Regions from separate parts of the Homo sapiens genome. Here region 2 is linked to region 1. The links are contacts of gene promoters, found by promoter capture Hi-C in human tissues and cell types (Jung and others, 2019). All regions are on one chromosome and are shown on one strand. The core of a region is centred on a gene start or on the middle of the fragment in contact, and the rest is flanking DNA. Distances in the headings are between cores, read along the strand shown.

Region 1 (5,603 bases), core at 2,569-5,068:
GAAATGTAGCTTTTTAACTATAGTGTCTATAAGCATATATCAAGAAAGCTCAAATTTACTGAGAAATATAAAGATCTGCATCTCATATGCTTTGTTTTACATCTCATGTAAAACATCTTCGTTTAACATATTTGTTTTACATCTCATGTAAGATCTGCGTCTCATATGCTTTGTTTTACTATAAAACCTACCTGCCTTATCCTTGGGAGTAAGAAAGCATTTTTATAGTGTGTAGTTATGCTCTTTCCAATTGTTTGACAACTGGGGAAATAAATTGAAGTGTTTCTAGCATATTTAACTTAACTCTAAGCAAAGCCTGATCATTTTGGGCCTGTGACTCCTATTGACTGTGTATCTTCTGGTTCCAATGTCAGAGCTAAGTGGTCTGTTTAAATCTTTACTGGGGGCTTTTAACTGCCTGTTTATGCAATATCTATGTAATGTTTGTCCAATTTTATGCACTTGAACAATTTTATCTTGATTTTTGGATAAGAAAAAGGGTAAAGTCAGTATCCAGCCTTAAGGGTAAATACAATACTAATGAGTGTATTAGTCCTTTCCCTTCTCACTCCCATGTAAATTGAAGTACATAGTCAATTCTGGGAATGTAAAGTCTCCAAGGAAGTTAACTGAGCTAAGTGTTGGGGCCAAACAGCCTTTCTGACTGCTCATCAAGGAATCCCCATCAGTCTTTGGAAGGTGACCTGTTTCCTAAAGATAGATACTCAAGGTAAAATTCGTTCTATTTATCGTGAGAGACTTGCCTCAGGAATGGACTCAGCTTTAATGGGTCCTTTCCTTATGTGAATTGGTGTCTCCTGGAAAGCCCTGGAACTACAAATGTTCTACTGGGTAAATGTGTGTTTAAAAGGAAAGATATATATTTTTAAAAGTCTGCCCAGGATATTGACCCCAGCCTTGTCATTTTTAGAATGGATGCTTTAAAAGCCAGCACAATCTATCCCATGCTCCCTTTTCACCCTGCCTTGATGGCTAGGAGTGTCCCAGAGATGAGTCATGGCTATTTTTGTGTGTGTTGAGCCTCAGCTCAACAGAAACTAGCAGGTTCTCTGAGTATAGCTAAGGAACTCTGATGAAGGCCCTCAGCCTCTTGGACAGAAGCAGCATAGGCTGTACCTGCTGAAAGTGTCCCCAGACCCTCTATATTCTTCCTTCCTAACTCAACCCCTATCTTTTTTTTTTCTCCCTTGCATGGAGCACACCCTATTTCTATCTGTCTTTTTATGTATTTACATCCCATAATAGATTCGTCACCAAATCTCTATCTAGGATAATAAGACCCGGAAAAAAGGATAAGTAGATATAGTCACTCTTAATACAGATTCCAGAGCCTTTGGGGTGCTGGGAAGCATGGTGCACAGAATTTGGGCCCTTGGACACCAGCAGAAACAGAATGTCACTTGCCTGCAGTTGCTCTGGTTGCTGCCAATTAATAAAAGGGCAGCGTAAAATCTTCCTGGGAAGATTCCACTATGTGCCACTATTAGAGAGCCATGGACTGCTCTGTGTGGCCTCCCCTGAGATTCAGAGGTCAGCTCCCACCCAAAGAGTGGGAGCTTGGACCATGCTGTCGCTAAGTGCTACATCCTGGGGATGGAGAGGCCTTCCTAATATCTCTTGAAAATACTCCCCAGGGGATCTTGGATTCGCCCTATAGCATCGTCTACGGTTCTTTGAATTGCGGAGACACAGGAGAAGATAGGACACACCTTGCATTTGTCCTGGATCTATTTCCTGGTAAAGAAATATTATAAACCACTAGCTCATTTTACTCAATCTTCTTTTTTTGTTTTTCATTTTTGGCCTCCAGTAGCCTGTGGGACAACATATCCCATCAGTAACAATGGCTGGCAATAGAAGGGATTCTTCCCAGGACTGGAGTAGGTGGAGAGCAAATTTGTCTCCTCAAGAACATGTATTGAAATCTCTGAAGCAGAGGTGTATACAGTTTTCAGAACTCTCCAGGTGATTTTGATGTACACACCTTTTCAACTCTTCATTACTTTGTCATTTTAAGCTCCACACTGGCATTTCTTACATTACTCTAATAAGTAAAATTGAATAATAAATATTTTACAAAGCTCTTCATTAACTTGCATTCCAAATTGAAGGGGAAAAGTGATTCTTTTATCCATCCCCTCCCCCTTGCTGATTTGTTTGCAGAATACAGGTGCTCAGTATTTTATTTTATAAAGAAATAACAATTTCTTTATTTGAAAAAGTATTGCCTAGACAAAATATGTATAATGAAGCTGCCAGAGTGTGATGTGGCCACAGCTGTACACAATATACATTTGTGAGCTCTTAAATCGTGGGTTCTGGAATAAGATAGTGTCATTCGCGGAAAATTGAAGTAGTAATTGTGCTCACTGATTGTATGAAAAGTGAAAACAGTGCTGTTACACAGAAAGATGAATTCTATTGGTCTCTGCTTAGAAGCTGCTATGCTAAATTAAACCTGATACTAGGCCTAAGGGGATTGCATTATTTGAGGAAAAAAGAAAATACAGGTAAACCCTGACAATTCTCATCCTCTTTCTGTTTTTCCTTTATTGCCATTTGTTCTGGGAACAAGGGTATACTATTTCTCAGAGGTTCTTTCCTGGCACGAGGGTCTAGGCCAGGCCATAAGCTCATCTCAGCTTCGTTCAGTTCCTGGCCATTCATGGATCCCTCTGTCTCACCTGGTCTGGTAACTGGCTTCTAAGGGAATCCCCAGTGAGGTTTGAGCTACCCAGTCCTGAGAGCCTGGGCCAGTAATTTTCCATTTCCAGGCCTCAGTTGTTTTAATTCAATGTCAATAAATTTTGGTTAAGAAATGAAGAGTTCAAGAAATAAACCAGATTTTTAAAAATAAAAGAGCTCTTCTAGAGCTGTCAGTCAATGGTTCAAAGACAATTGTGTCCTTTCTGAGGTCTTTAGCACAAAGCCGCTAGAGTAACACTTTTCATTTCAAGAGAGAATCCAGTGACATTGTCCCTGACTTCACACTTCCTGAAAACCACTTGGCAACTCAACACCAAGAGCTTCCGGTTCTTAGCAACCTGTTTCACTTCTTGAAGCTCTTTACTGTTGGAACTCTGCGTGTCTAGGGATCCAGACTTCCGGGTTAAAGAATCGTAAGATGATTACAGTTGGAAGTTGGACCAAAGCTAGGGTAAGCAGCCATATGCCTGGTCTTTTCCATGCTCAAGGCAGCCTCCCTTCAGGTAACCGTGTCTTCACTTGGATTACCAAATTTGAAGTCAGATTCCCCTCTGGTTTCTAAAGAATTTGAATTGGGCATCACAGAGCTACGGATGCTCTCTTGCTCCAGCTCAGCAGTAATGGAGGCAGCAGGAGCCTGCAGCACAGAACAAACTCATTACCCCAGCAGCCACCTTAGCCTGGCTTGGGACCAGGAACTGAATATGGGCTCTAACAGTTCTATGACGCTATGAATCTGAAATGTTATTACTGTGCTTTGCATGGCATATGAAATTACATTCTAGCTCACCAACTGGTCTAAGATTGCCCTGGGCAAAGAGATGTTACTTCTCACTCAATTCCCTGTTAGGAGCACAATAGTACTAAAATAAATAAACAAATGAGCTCGGTTTCAGAAGGCCTAGATCTGAATCTTGGATGAGCCACTTAGGGGTTGCATAAACTTCAGTTTCCTGATCTGATCTGCTTTGGCCAGCACACAGGTCAAGCGGTTTGTGCTAGGCACATGGTAAGTGATGGTCACAGCATATCAGGGGGTGTGGAAGCAGCAGGCTCTGCCTTTCCCTGTCCCTCATTTCTCCTTGACTTCCTAGGGTGTCGTACTTACCATAGCACATGATGTGGAGAATGCTAGAAGAGCAGTTGGGTGAAGCAGGGCCACCAAATAGTCCTTGCCTCCTGGAGACCTCTGGAAATCCAGATGAGTGTGGTCTGAGGTTGGGCCTCCCACTGTGCTTGCTCCTCTCAGGCCTACCCAGCGCTGCCTCTGAAGCCTAACTCAGGGCCCTGAAACTCCCCCTTGGGGCTTCCCTTCTCCCCAGCCCTCACTCTTGGTGCCCTGCCTGGCTACCATGGTAACAGGTTCCAGGGTAACAGAGGAGGGAGCTGGGTCCTGTTTACTCCCAGTCCTGCCGATGAGGATTCTGACCGTAGACACTGAATTGTCCCGTACCTATCCGTGCTCTTTCTGTGTTCTCACCAGGGCTGAGCTCGAACTGCCACCTCTGCCAGCAGGACCATGTGTACCAGCTTGACCACTTGTGAGTGGAAGAAAGTCTTCTATGAGAAGATGGAGGTGGCAAAGCCAGCGGACAGCTGGGAGCTCATCATAGACCCCAACCTCAAGCCCAGTGAGCTGGCCCCTGGCTGGAAGCAGTACCTGGAGCAGCACGCCTCAGGCAGGTGAGAGGTTCAGTGGGGAGGGACCTTGCAGACAGCCCCTGGGTCACAGCTGTGGGGTACTTTCCAAGGAGAGACAGAGCCCAGTCGCGGGCTTATTCTGGTGTCAGCTCAGATGGGGAAAAAGACAAAGACAGCCGGCTGGGTCAGAGAGTTCTTGCTTTTAATCCTAGCAATACCACTAACTCCCTGGGTGACCCTGAGAAAGTTATGTTCCATCTTTGGGTCTTAGTTGTCCACATTAAATGAAGAGCTGTAATATCATCTATGTCCCTGCAATCTCTGACATTTAGAGTGAGTTGGAACTGAAGGAAGGAGGCCATGAGGTCCATTGGGGAAAGTTTTAATCTAGGAGTTGGGGGAATGCAGGGGGTACAGCTATGCTCTGTTCCTAGATATGTTTAGTGAATTAATCCAATTTGATCTGAATACATAAACATTTATTGACCACCTGCTGTGTGCTACGAACTGGCTCTATATAGCTAAGTAGCCTTGTAAACTTGGCAAGTCTGTTTCCCTTTCTGGCTCTCAGTTTTTATATTTACAAAATGAGGGGGTTGGTCTTAGATAATAGATCCAATCCACTCTAGCTCTATTATCTATGCACCTGTGATAAAAAGATTTAGCTTTGAGCAAAACTTTCTTTAGGAACTTAGAGCCCAGGGTCCCACTCTTTATAGGAGCTGCACATCTACCACAGGGCAAAGAGTCCTTGAGGCCAAGGGGACGAGGCCGTCTAAAGTCCACATGCCTTTCCTCCTTTTAGATCATGATTGGGGACTGGGACTACAGAAATTCCTCCCCAGACTACCTCAAGTCCATCTGTAGTGTCTGTGCAGGCCTTTTTCCTGTGTCCTTGGATTCAAGAGAGGCCAGTAAGTGGCTGTGCTCTGGAGATGTAGCCAGAACATGGACACAAAGGCTGGGTTGTTCACGTGTATGTGTGTGAAGCTTCTCATGGTGCAGAATGGTGCTGAGGGTGGGAACAGAGGAGGCAAGATGTGGGTAGGGAGCTTACGTTTGTACTCTTGTCCCAAGACCTGGAATTATTGGAGTAAACCTGCCTTGTGAAAAAAAGACAGAAAACCAGAGGTTGGCTGATTCATGTCAGTTCCATCAACTCAAGAAGCATCTATTGGGTACCTGTTATGTGCTGAGCACTGGCTCTGCCTCTAACTAGCTGTGTGTACATGGAT
Region 2 (5,775 bases), core at 2,688-5,187, 460 kb after region 1:
ATATACAACCATGTGGCCTCAGGCTGACCAGATCAAAGTGGTTTCTAATCCATTCTACATGTCAAGTTTAAATGAACCAGACTGCCTGTGACTTTATGAATCTGAAGGTATTACCTGTTGCTGCTTTCTTAACCACCATGAGTAGGTAAAGCAAATAATAACTCACAGAGTGTGGATTTTTGAGAATCTGAATGTTTTCTCATTCACAAAAGTATCCCTTCTACCCCTATCTGGCGCAGGGCTGAAATGTCATCATTAGAGGTTCTGTCTTCTGGGGCTTACAAGTTCTATGTTTCTTAAAATTCGCTGATTAAAAATTTTAAAAAGATAGGATCACACCTGAAAGCAGTGGTCCCAGCTCTGTGCTGTGGGACATCACAGGTCCTAAACAGTGATAGAGAAAGGGCTGGGGAGTGGCAGCTGGAATCTCTGCTTCCGTCTGAACATCTGGACACACATGTCAGAGAATCTTTGCATTAAATGGACTGCCCGATCTATTTGGTGATTAAATGGCTGTGCGGTGAGGGGAGAACCCTGGGCAGTCTGGAGACTGAGGTGCCATTCTCGGCTAGAGACACCACCCAAAGAAGAGATGGGCTGGCTACTAAAGACAAGTGTCAGTTGAATAAATGTCTTTAAACCTACAACGTATTAACAGCATTCATACTCAGTGACATACAGGGCATCAGAATTTAAGAGGAAGATTTGATATGTACCCAAATAATTGTAATAGCTTTGATGCAGACAACATTAGATATATTCCATCAAAGAAACATGAGTGAAGAGTTCCAGAACAAGGAAGCAGCCCTGCCCAGTTAGAATTAGAAAGGCTTTCAAGAAGAAGGAGTGTTTCATCAGGACTTCAGGGTGGCCAGAGCATGGACACAGGGTGCCCCGTGCAGCAGGGATGGCACCAGAGAGGCCTGGGAGCAGGAGGCAGCAGGGGAGCACACTGAAGGAGCTGGTGTTCGGAGGGTGGGTGCACCAAGGGGAGGAAAGAAGATGAGGCCAGGGAGGGGGCTAGAGCCCAAACCCCCAGGCCTGAGTGCCAGGGTTAGCTGATTGCACATCGTTCTCTAGAAAGCCCCCCAGTACAGCAAAGCACACTTGGAACTGTAGGTCAAGAAATGTGTGTCTGGAGAAAAATAAGTGGCAACAAGAAATTACCATGGAGATAGGGTGTTGGGCGGTACCTCCAAGGCAAGGGGAAAGAGAAGGGTGTTTTGATTCCAGAGTGCGGAACTGGCCAGACAGGACTTTAGAGAAAAGGATAAAACCCTTCCTAAAGCAAAGAGCATAAGTCAACGGAGGAAGCAGGGTCTAGTGTGTGCTGATTGTGCCAGACAGAGCTGCTCAAGGCCTCTTGTGAGGGGTTAAGTCACTTCCATGTCCCAGAGAAACATGGCTTTTTCCCTGCCACTGTGGACTTGGGAAGAAAGTACGCCCCTCCACACTGCCAAGACCCTCTACCTTCCACTATTTATCACCCCCTCTACCTAGTTGTAGGGCCAGCTGTATCAGTGGGCAAAGTTACTTCTCTGAAGTGATGTGAAAGTAGGTCCTCCACCCAGAAAATATCTATCCGCCAGCATCAGCCACATAACAGGCTCCCAGGGGCCCGTCCATCTAGCCACACTAAAGCCAACCCTGGAATTCCTGAACTGGGCGGTCAGGTGGACCAAAGTTAAGGGAGATGAGTGATACCAATACCTAGGCACCAAGTCAATGGCATTTTCTGAAAAAGGAGGAAAAATCGGCTTTAACAGAAAATAAATTTAAAACTGTTCATAGTATTTAAATAATAAATATTATTGCCTCATTATCCTAGTGTTGAGCTGCACACATTTACCTCACAAAGTAGAAGAGCATCTGTACTTTTGGATCATCAAAACAAATGGAGATGATTTGTCCAGGGTGATTGGACTAGAGGCCAGGACAAAACCAGTTGTCTTGATTGGCCTTCTTAGTGGATAAGAAGTACCTATATTTACTCCCCTCCTTCATCTTTTCCTCCAACCCGGAGGGACTTGAAATTATTTGCATTTTGAGTGGACTCTCTAGCTAATCAAAAAGATGAATTTGGAGTCCTAAAGTTAAAATCACAATGTCTAAATGGCACTCAGGGATAAATTATATCTCACTGTTTCCCAAAATGACCAGGTAAAATTCAGGAGGACATGGAACTTTGGAAATTTTACCAGGGCTCTGGAAATTCTGACAGTTGATGTCCACCATTGGCCAGCTAGTACCTAGAATAGGCCATTTAACTGGAAAACAGATCCTTAAGAACCACTAGTTCCATTTACTAAAACAGCCCTGGGTTTGAGGTCAAATCTTGCTCTCATTCTGATAGTAACTTGCTGTATGTCCTTAGACGAGTCAAGTCTCCTCTCTGGGCTCATAGATAAAATAAAGAGGACATTCTAGATTGCCTACTTCAGGTTTCTTTCCAGCTGTGACATTCTATGATTCATCTATGATTCTTCGACTCTGGCATAGGCTGTTATACCTAAGATTAGGATTTCCTTAAGAATGAAAAGATTGACAAATTTGGGTCCAGAGCCTCTGATATGGCCATGAAAAGATGCCCTGACTCTCAGCTGACTCACACTGGGCTCCATCAGTGCTGACAACTCCCCTAAGACTGAGCTGGACTGGAAAGCTCCCCAAAGACCACCTCTGAGGAGCAGGCATCTTTATTCATGTCCTGTACTGGGAATTATGGCTCAAACATGCGGCCATCAACAATTATAGAAAATGAACAGGGGAAGACTGAAAGCTGATCCACCTCCAACCCTGCCTCCTGGCTTCTATGGCCAAGCAAGCTGCCTGTAGAGAGGCAGCAGGGTGGGGCTGTGTACTCATACAGGAGCTGGGTTTTTTTATTTTTTGTGCCAAACTCCAATGTGAGCACATTAGCTGCTGTTACTCAGCCTAGGATTGGGACTAGAAGAACAAAAGATTATTTAGTTTATGTCAGCTAGAGTTTTCTCACTAAGCCAAGGGCTTCATTCTTGGGCAGAAGAGGCAGAGAGGATTGCACAATAAAACTAGAAGTAAAAGAAAGAGGCCCTGGTGGGTAAAAGACTGGAGTCTGCTTAAACCTCAGTAGACCTTCCCCTACCCAAAATTGACACTGGGCAGGTGAGTTGACCACACAGTAGTACCATAATGAATGGAAGAGACCTCAAAAGCAGGACCATGGGTAGCTTCACAGGCTGTACACTGCACACCCCAGGGGTGCCCTTCAGAGGCATTATAACATTGCTTTCTGGAATTGTGTGCAGTGCACAACCTGTACATCTGCATGAGATAGATCCATCAGATAGCCAAAGGAGGATGAGCAAAAGGCAGTTGAGGGGTCTCACTTCTTCTCTCTCAGTTGTAGACTGTAGAGCCCCAGGAGAGCTGGAACACGGGCTGATCACCTTCTCTACAAGGAACAACCTCACCACATACAAGTCTGAGATCAAATACTCCTGTCAGGAGCCCTATTACAAGATGCTCAACAATAACACAGGTAAGCCATCCATGCTAAGCCATCCCACTCCCGTTTCACACTCTCGGGGCCTCAGGGTTGGACTGGGGGCCGAGACAGCTGTGAAAGGAAGAACTGCTCATAAGTGTGTAGAGCCTGATAATGCAAAACGTGTCACTCACACATCTCAGGTTCTCACTTTTCATGAGCTTGTGTTACTGTGTCCATGTGGAGATGCAGAAACAGTCTCAAAACCAAAAAGCAGGCTTTTTTGTTTTTAACTTTAAAGCTAGCACTGATTTACTAATGAGTTGTTGGTGGGAGCGTGAAGGAGTCACACACTGACACAACTAAGAGAAGAAACGAGACCCTAAAGGAAGCCTGGAATCCCCCAAGTTAAACTCCTTCATGTGGTCTGAGGCTGAGTTGGGGTTTCCAAAAAAAGGCCAGTATTACTGCTTCACCCAGACTCTGCCTTGGCTTCTGGGTGAGGGCAACATCTCACCAGGCCAGACCCATTCAGCAGGTAAGGGACCTTCCTTCAAAGACCTCTTCCCCTGGTACGGACAGGGGTCCAGGCAGGGTTGGGGAGCGAGGAGTGGATCCTCTGTCTCCCCAGGTAGCCCAGCATATCCCCTGACCACAGCTCAAGCACAGCCACAGCAGTCCCTGTCCAGGCCCCATCCATGCCACCTGGCAGAGACCCCTGGCTGCCCCAGGGGCTGGGCAGCAGCACACTGGCCAGAGGGTGAAGGACCAGCAATAACCTGACCATTGGCCACACTGGGGGTTTGGGAGGAACTGGGAGGAGAAATGCTTAGAGACATAACCCGCCTCTCCCTGCCTTGTGGCAGCCCAACACCCGCTCACATGCACTCATAGTCCCTAGCAGAAAAGGAACTCTCAGGGAGAAAGGAGGGCCCATCGGCTCTGCCTCTCTGGCATGCAAGCACTGAGAACATTCTCCTGACTCATCTAAGCCTCCAACTCCTCTTTGTTTTTGTTTTTGTTTTTGAGACAGGGTCTCACTCTGTCACCCAGGCTGGAGTGCAGTGGTGTGATGTCGGCTCACTGCAACCTCCACGTCCTGGGTTCAAGCAATTCTCTCGCCTCAGCCTCCCAAGCAGCTGTGATTACAGAAGCTTGCCACCATGCCCAGCTAATTTTTGTATTTTTAGTAGAGACCCGCTTTTGCCATGTTGGTCAGGCTGGTCTCAAACTCCTGACCTCAAGTGATCCGCCCGCCTCGGCCTCCCAAAGTGCTGGGATTACAAGCGTGAGCCACTGCACCTGGCCCCAAGTCCTCATTTTTAAAAGAGGGAAGAGTTACAAAGCTCTTAGAGCTATTTCAAAATGCCAGTGAGATGGTGGCCACAAATGTATGCTTATTAAAGAGTCTGTCAAATGGAGAAGAAAGGAAAGGGCATCTGTGCAACAGGGAGCCATGTGAGCCCAGGTCTTTGTGACAAGTGAGGCGGAGGTGCCTTCCAGGACCTGGGCAGCGTGGGGTGGGGAGGGGAGCAGCCCTCAGCCAGGCAGGAGTGGGATTCCCCAGAGCTTTGGACAGACACCATGCTGAAGAGTGTGGTGTTTATTTTTGGGGGTGACAGCAAGCCATTCGTGATTCTGAGCTGAGAAAGGACATGGTCACATTCCCATTTTAGAAAGATCCTTCATGTTGCAAAGGGAGTTTGATAGAAGGACTAGGATGGTAGCCCTGTGGGTATTTGAAGATATTTGGAGGTTAATTGGTCCCTTTGGAGGATTGTATCCCAGAGAGTACCTGCCACATTCTTCCTCATTCTTCTTAGTACATCTAGGCTCAGAGACAATCGTATCTGAGCCTAGATGACCATTTGGAGGACTTTGTAATAACTCACTTTAGAGAAATTAAATACCCAGATCTATTTTCCATGTGTTACAAATCAACCATTTTCTCCCTCCTCTCCTAACCTCTTTCACTAATCCAGGTATATATACCTGTTCTGCCCAAGGAGTCTGGATGAATAAAGTATTGGGGAGAAGCCTACCCACCTGCCTTCCAGGTACCTCACCCTCCAAATCCTTTGCCTCACAGTTTTCCATCCAAGGCCCTAGGACCCCAGGTTTTCTGGCTGTTAACAGGGTGATGGGGGACAGGGGAGGTGATGCTTTGGTTGCTTTTTAAGAGATGTCTTCAAAAGGTTAAAGGTCAGAGAAGACTTGCTTCACACCTTCTCAAACCAGCCTGTATTTTCTGCCTGCTCCATCACTCTGAGAGCCCTCCTGTCCCGTCTCTGTGCCCTTGCCACAAGATT

The links. The method cuts DNA at HindIII sites, captures the fragments that hold promoters and counts their contacts. A contact is called where the count stands out against the background at its distance.
Region 2: a contact is called between a fragment that was not itself captured here and the fragment with the promoter of RTP2 in region 1, in 1 of the 25 tissues and cell types used here (mesendoderm cells).

The regions. Positions count from the first base shown.
Region 1 is chr3:187,700,772-187,706,374 of GRCh38, reverse strand. It overlaps RTP2 (receptor transporter protein 2), which reads left to right and starts at 3,818. Exons shown (of 2, transcript NM_001004312.2): 1 at 3,818-4,410. The coding sequence starts at 4,247. LOC100131635 (hCG1645011-like) reads right to left here and starts at 4,009. Exons shown (of 3, transcript NR_034062.1): 1 at 3,836-4,009. The HindIII fragment of the contact is 10,678 bases long and covers 1-5,603 here.
Region 2 is chr3:187,241,229-187,247,003 of GRCh38, reverse strand. It overlaps MASP1 (MBL associated serine protease 1), which reads left to right. Exons shown (of 11, transcript NM_139125.4): 9 at 3,383-3,520; 10 at 5,449-5,523. Among named protein-coding and RNA genes, the nearest start is that of RTP1, 47 kb to the right of the region's middle. The HindIII fragment of the contact is 6,418 bases long and covers 729-5,775 here.